2 separate regions of the Homo sapiens genome follow, and region 2 is linked to region 1. Evidence: promoter capture Hi-C in human tissues and cell types (Jung and others, 2019). All regions are on one chromosome and are shown on one strand. Each heading gives the region's core, a stretch centred on a gene start or on the middle of the fragment in contact. The rest is flanking DNA. Distances are from core to core; before and after follow the strand shown.

Region 1 (3,808 bases), core at 1,282-3,781:
GCTTCATCGTCTCCTTCAAACCTTCCATTATAAAGGGTACATACAGAAGGGTGGTTGTGTTTCCCACCAGGAAATCAGCTAAAAGCAAACAGCAGGTAACAGACAGAAAAATAAATACCGTGGAAAGGAATGTTTTATTTACCAGGCAGTAAGCCTATAAGATTCTCAGACCTTCTGAGAGGGAAAAATAATCCGATAACCCGAAAGTTCACTAGAAACAAGCCACTTTCAAAACAAATTGCTGTCCTTTATTTTTCTTCTTTCTTTGATAAAGTTTTTTTTTTAATTGGCTCATGCAAAAAGCTGCTTGATTCCCAACAGAAAAAAGAAAATCTAAACATTTCATAGTCATTTCTCACTCCAGGGAGGATCACTGGGGAGGAAATGAAGGCATTTGAAAGAGAATGAAAACTAAAATTTAGAACACAGGAAAGTTAAAAAAAAAAAAGAGAGAGAGAGAGAAAGAGAGAACAAGGGAAAAGAGCAAATGGAAAATTTTCAAAGCCCCTAAGAAAGTGCAGAAATAAGCTACTTCCCATCACACTCTCTTTAAACATGGAAAGGGCTATGAGTCCAGTCCCAGGATGGACAGTGTGAAGCCCTTCATTCCAGAAGGAAACAAGTCACCAAGTAAGGTACAGAGAATTATGGAATGGGCTCATAGAAGGAAACAAGTCTCCTAGTCAGGTACAGAGAATTATGGAATGGGCTCATCTCTTCTCACTGTCTTCCTTCACTGACTCCATGCCCCTACCATGAAGAAGCCCAACCTAAACACAAAACCATTAGGATGAGAGCCAGCCTTCCCCCTCAGGCCGCTCTCCCCTCAAACCGCAGCATTTCAAGAATAAAATGCATGTGAATGTATTAAAATCAAAATAGGCGCACTTGAGGTAACAATACCCACAACAGAAAACTCAAGTGCAATCTGGTACACATAATTCTTCCTTTTGAGACATGGGGGTGGGGGAAGAGTTTCCTGTAAAAGTCCGCTTTTTCAATCTGCTTAAGAGATAAGGAATACAATTCTGGAGATACTTCTTAATTCCTTGCTTTTAAGCTTTCCTTTTGTTTTCTGGTACTGTCCTCCACCTTCCTTTTCAAGCCAGTCTGTGCTTCTGAAATGCAGATCTCCGGATAATTAGTCCATGATGGGCAATAACCAGCCCGGACATCCTTGAGAAGTACATCGACAGTAAAGGACCCCTGCTGGGAAGAACAACTTTTCATAAAGGAGTTGCTAATTACCAGCATCTCCATCCCAGAAGGGTTAAGAGCCTCGCAGCAGCACAACCGCTACCTCTCGCCTTTTAACGCCAATTCTTTCGGAACTGGTGTGAACGTGGAGTGGGAGGAGAGGGGGAAAGGGACGCACTCAACCCCGTCAGACTAAGAAATCAGGCGATCTATATATCCCCAAGTTCACCACGCCAGCCAAAGGAGGCATCTCATGCCAAGGGAGGCAGCTCAAGAAGCCATTTCCAGGAAAGCTGCATTACAAAATGTAATTTATCAGAACGAGTCTCCTCCGAGTCTCCTGACGGCCAGGCCCGGCGGCTTCGGGAGGGGGGGGAGTTGCTGGGGAGAGTTTACCTTAGAAGGCGACAACGAACAGACAGGCCTTTCAAAGCCACCCAGGGCTCTGCCCCGAGGCCCGAGGCTGCGTGGAGGGGCTGGAGAGGCGCGAGGCTGCGAGCCCCCCGGCGCCACAGGTTCCCCGGCGCGCGGCCCCGCCCGACTGCCACAGGTGGGCGGCGCTCCGCCTCTGGGCTCCCGCGGGAGGGGGCGCGCGGCTCTCTAGGGACTCGGGGGAGGGGGCCAGGGCTAAGGGGTACGGGGACGGCTCTGCCTTAAGGAGGGCAGCGTGAGACGGAAGCTCCGGGTTTTCCCTGCCTAGTTCTCGTTCCCTCGGCCGGGTGGCTCGGGCTATTCCTCGCGACAGGAGGAGCGGTGGAGAGGAGCCGTGGGCACCTCCCACCGGCCGCCCCTGGAGCCTCGGCCTCCTCCCCAGGCGCGGTTAAGCCGCGCGGCCGCCAGCTGCATGCGCCCCGGCACGTACGAGCCTGCACGACCACACGCGGGCGGGGGAAGGGCGCCGTGATCCGGGAGCCCCAGTCCCTCCAGGGCCTCACCCCAGCCCAACGCGGCTCGCCCCCGGCCCTCGTCCCCGCAGCCCCTCACCGGTGCTGGCCTTGATGTTCTCCCGCAAGAAGTGGCCGCTGGAGAGATGCTGGAGACCAAAGTTCTGGGCGATCCTCTGGCACACGGTGCCCTTGCCCGAGCCGGGCGGCCCGAGGATGACCGCGCGCAGGAGTTTGGAAGCCATTGCCTTCGCGAGGAGGGGGGCGGTCAAACGCGCAGCCCCGACCGCGGCCCCGGAGGAAGCCCCGGGAACTTTGTTTCTCGGCCCCCTACCTCTGGCACCCTCCGCTCTCACTGGGACTCGCCGGCCGCCCCTACAGGGGGAAGGAGAGACTTTTAAGACAACCCCTCCCCTCAGCCCAGCGCCGGGACCGAGTAGCAGGCGGACTGAGCGCCACGCTACACCTCCCCGCCCTTCTCCACCTCCTCGCCCTCCTCCACCTCCTCGCCCCCACGCAAAGCTGCTGAAGCGCGCCGTGCCCCGCCCTGCCGACTCGGCCTCCAGGGGTCAGAGGTCGGCCCGGCCAGTCCCACCTTCATCCTTAACTCCAGCTCGCTCCCCACGCCGCGTCCGAGAAGGGGGCCGGGCGGCCAGGCATCCCCAAGCCAGTCTCCGCCGAGCCGGGGAAGCTGGCACAAGCGGGGGTGACTCAAAGCCAGCCCCCGCCGCCCCACGCACCGGGCGGCCTAGGGGCTGAGCCCCTGCCCGGTCCTCGCACGTGGGCAACGTGTGGTCTGCGTCTCGTCCCCTCCCCGGCGGCTGTCACATCCCCCGGAGTCTCAGCTGCCGCCGCTGCCCGCCGCCCGCGCGCGCTCGGAGGGGCCCACCTCCGCCCGGGGTTGGCGGATGCGCTCCCCGGCCATGGGGCGCGCGACGAGCCCGAGCCCCGCGCCTCGCCACCAAAAGCAATCAAATAAACACACACCTTGGCTGGAGGCAGCACTCCGAGAGGCTTCCAGCCCGGATCCTGCAGGGCGGCGCCGCCTCCGCCCGCCCAGTCGCGGAGCCCCGGCCGGCCGCGCGGGACTCGCGCCTTACGTAAGCCCGGGAGACCGGCTCCGCGCGAGCCGCTGGCCGCCGCCCCCTCCCCTCCACTCCACTCCACTCCCACCCAGCCTGCCTGGCCCACGTGCTCCCTGCGACCCAGCGAGGGCTGCGGGGGCGAAGCGAGGTGCAGACCACGCGAGGTAGAGAAACCCCTTTTTTTCTTTCGCGGTCGCCTGGGGACCGCGGTCTACTGCAAGGGAAGGGAAAAATACAACTTGTTGAGCGCCTACTGTGCGCCAAGTTTGCGGCTAGGTGATTTCATTGTGTTTACAGCCGAGGAATGGAGCGTGACCATTCATTCATTGATTCATTCTGCAAATGTTTATTGAGTGCCTACTGTGTGCCAGAAACTATTCTAGGCGCTTAGGATCTAGCCGTGAACAACAGATCGAATCCTGCTCTCAAGAAATTGCGTCCTAGCGGGAGGCTGGAACCCAAGACTGACTGACTCCAAAGTCTAGGCGCCTTAGGGAACAGGGAAGAAGGGGATGTCCCTCACCTGTGTTCAGGACCTTCTTGGTAAATGATTCCAGGACTTCCATGCGCATTATGCTGGTGCTGCACCTATAACTCACCAAGTCCAAATGGAGTCTGTCTTCCCCCACTCCACCCTCCCCT
Region 2 (3,754 bases), core at 225-2,724, 440 kb after region 1:
ATCTTTCTGGTAACATATATGACACTGTGTTATAATTCTTTATGTGAGCTTGCCGGTTCCTGGAGGGCGAGGACTGTGTATCCTTGTGCTTTACATATTCAATATCTAGCACTGTGCTTGGTACATAGTACAATATATGATTAATACATCAGTGGGTCAACAAATGAATGAATGAATAACTAACTTGATTGGTCAATTACTTAACTTCCCACTGAAGACAAACATTTTTTCTGTAGGCTTTTCTTGAATACCTCTGAAGTTCTAATCTGTGGAGAAAATGATGAATCTTATTCATGATATAGTCATTTAGGTATCCAAATAAACACCGATTGTCTATTCTGTCTATTGTCTATTTCACTCCAGGCACTTTGATAGTTGCTGGATTCACACTCTTCAATGATTCCCACACAGCACACCTAGATTGCTGGGTGTCCAGGGGCCTCAATATTGACTCAATCCTGTATTAGTCAGGATTGTCCAGAGAAACAGAACCAATAGAATATCTTTATTTATTATAAGGAATTGGCTCACATGATAATGGAGGCTGACAAGTCCCCAAATCTGCAGGGTGATTTGACAAGCTGGAGACCCAGAAGAGCCAATGGTTTCGTTTCAGTCCAAGTTCAAAGACCTGAGAACTAAGCCGATGGTATAGCTCCAGTCCAGAGGCCAGAAAGCTCAAGACCCAGAAAGAGCCTATGCTTCAGTTTGAGTCTAAAGGCAGGAAAAATCTCAGTATCACAGTTCGAAGGCTGTCAGGCAGGAAGAATTTTCTGCTACTCAGAAGAGGACCAGGCTTTTTGTTCTAGTCAGTCTTTTAACGGATTGGCTGAGGCCCACTCACTTTATGGAAGGCTGTCTGCTTTACTCAGCCTCCCCGTTTCAATGTTAATCTCATCCAAAGCACCCTGACAGAAATACCCAGAATCATGGTTGACTAAATATCTGGGTATCCTGTGGCCCAGTTGACACACAAAATTAACGACTACACCTTCCAAACATGTTCTCTCCCCCACACGATGTTTAATATTATTGATATTCAGATGAAAATCTTTCCTTTTTCTTTAAAAAATTGACACCATCGATGGCAATAATAAGCTAAAATTAGCTGCCTTTGTTTATTAACCTCTGCAGGTTGTTAGACATTAATTCACTTATTCAAACTACTCTCTTGTGCTTAAGAATCAAGAAGCCTGTATTTGAGTTCCAGCCCTTGCCATCATCTAGCTTTGTGGCCTTGAGTAAAACCTTCAAGTATGTCAATTTCCTTATTTGTACGAATGCGGTGGGGAGATAATCTTCAAGTTCCTTCTAGCTCTAACATTCAGTCATGAAATTATCATTTCACAAATCAGAGGAATTAAAAAGAACCCACATATTGGGATGATGAAAAAGTTTTGGAAATAGTGATGGTGGTCGCACAACATTTTGGATGCACTTAATGCCACTGAATTGCACACTTAAAAATGGTTAAAGTAGGAAATTTTATGTTGTATATATTTTATGGTAATAAAAACATTTTAAAAAGTACCTACACAGGCCGGGTGCGGTGACTCACACCTGTAATCCCAGCACTTTGGGAGGCCGAGGTGAGTGGATCACTTGAGGCCAAGAATTTGAGACCAGCCTGGTGAGCATGGCAAAATCCCATCTCTACTAAAAATACAAAAAATTAGCTGGGCATCATGGCGTGAACCTGTAATCCCAGCTACCTGGGAGGCTGAGGCAGGAGAATTGCTTGAATCCAGGAGGCGAAGGTTCCAGTGAGCCAAGATTGCGCCACTGCACTCCAGCCTGGGCAACAGAGCACAACTTTGTCTCAAAAAAAAAAAAAGAAAAACAAAAGAAAAACAAGAAACAAAACAAAAAAAAGTACCCACATAGATTCAAACATTGTCCTCCAACATTGAGGATCAGCTATTTAATCCATTAATGAATGAGGCTTATGGGACAGTGAGAAATGGAGAAAATAGCCCACAGTGTAGCTTACGTGGATGGCTCTAGTTCAAAGGTACTCTGGCCCCAGTGGCCTCCCTCATACCCTTCTTATCTGGATGCTATTTCACTGTCTGCCCCAGCCTCCCCGAAGGCAGGGACTGCTTGAGTATCCAGGCTGTCCATGCCATCCATCCCTAACCCCAAAAAGGAAACTAGCAATTTCTAACTACCCTATCAATCTGGATCAAGTTGTGAAAGTATTCTATTTTCTCTCTTTGCTTTTCTTCCAGCTGAGAAAGGCTAGAGTCCTTAAAAACTGAAGTTAACTAAGAAGTGTTTGCAAAAAGCAAAAATAGTCTGAATTTAATTTTTCTTCATATTATTACTGCTGTGACTGTTGGTCTAAGTAATATTTATTGATTGCTTTTTAATGCCAGGTAATGTTGTTAATTTATGGATCCATTTAATCCTCATAACACCCTTCAAGTATTTTATATTTTAAACGTTATGATGAACTTGGTTGGAAGTTGTTATACTTTGTCAGGAATTCTAGTCATCAGCCTAGGAGGAAAAGTATCTATCTACCCTGTCCCTCTCCTCACCACTAGCATAGACACTGTCTGCTGAAATTCCACATTTGCATCCCAGTTTCTACAAGATATGAAAAGAGGATGCAATGAAAAGGCCATTGCCCTTTGGAGGCCAATAAAGAACTACAGCTGTAAGGCTGCCTCTTTTTCTCTTACATGTACATGCCCATTTGCTTTGTTTCTTTGCCCTTTCCAACTTTTCCATAATTAAAAGGCTGAATGGTATCCCTTTCCTATTAATCTATTCTGCTCCCCATCTCTGTAAACTGATTCCTGACATATGCTGATCAGTTAGCACAGTAAGTGACTCACAATTCCTCTCCTGTGTCCCCTTGGTGTGGCTGGCCATTCAGTACTCACAACTCATTCTTCAAAAATAAAACCCCTGCCAACTGCTCACGTTTAACAAATTTAACATATTCCTTCCCTCAAACCATGTTCCTGTGTGTGGCTATAGCTGCCTGGTCATCCTTATGTGGAGTCTTGGGTAACTGGTAATCAACAATAGGATGGCAGAGATGGGAATTCCAGGATGACCATGTTTGGTGAAGAACTGATAGTCTAATTTTCGGTAAAATGGATTTTTAAAACATTGTATCAAGATAGACACAACACTAGACACTCAATTTTGTTAATTTTATTTTTTGAAGTTAAATGTACATCCATCAAAATGCACCAATCACAACTATACAATTTTAACAAATGGATTCACTCAGATGATACATCTTTTTATGACCTCAGAGCCCCTCACCAGTCAGCCCCAGACCCTCAGAAGAAACCGCAGCTTAGATTTTTTTCCATTATAGATTAATTTTACCTGTTCTAGAACTTCATATCAAAGGATCTATCCCAAATGTGCTCTTTTGTGTTCTTTTGCTTAGTATAACATCTATGAGATTCAGCCGTGATGTTATGTATATCATGTTCATCCTTTTTTTTTTTTTTTTTTTTTTTTTTATGGAGTCTCACTCTGTTGTGCCTAGGCTGGAGTGCAGTGGTTCGATCTCAGCTCACTGCAACCTCTGCCTCCTGGGTTCAAGTGATTCTTCTGCCTCAGCCTCCTGTGTAGAAGGGATTACAGGTGTGCACCACCATGCCTGGCTAGTTTTTTGTACTTTTAGTAGAAACGGGGTTTCACCATGTTGGCCAGGCTGGTCTTGAACTCCTGACCTCAGGTGATCTGCCCGCCTCGGCCCCACAAAGTGCTGGGATTATAGGCGTGAGCC

The links. The method cuts DNA at HindIII sites, captures the fragments that hold promoters and counts their contacts. A contact is called where the count stands out against the background at its distance.
Region 2: a contact is called between a fragment that was not itself captured here and the fragment with the promoter of AK4 in region 1, in 1 of the 25 tissues and cell types used here (H1 embryonic stem cells).

Annotation. Positions count from the first base shown.
Region 1 is chr1:65,146,926-65,150,733 of GRCh38, reverse strand. It overlaps AK4 (adenylate kinase 4), which reads right to left and starts at 2,531. Exons shown (of 5, transcript NM_013410.4): 1 at 2,182-2,531. The coding sequence starts at 2,326. RefSeq lists enhancers at 564-1,282, 1,283-2,001 and silencers at 1,595-1,874, 1,935-2,234, 2,615-3,114, 3,125-3,364. The HindIII fragment of the contact is 12,604 bases long and covers 1-3,808 here.
Region 2 is chr1:64,704,910-64,708,663 of GRCh38, reverse strand. No RefSeq gene overlaps it. Among named protein-coding and RNA genes, the nearest start is that of RAVER2, 38 kb to the left of the region's middle. The HindIII fragment of the contact is 5,055 bases long and covers 1-3,754 here.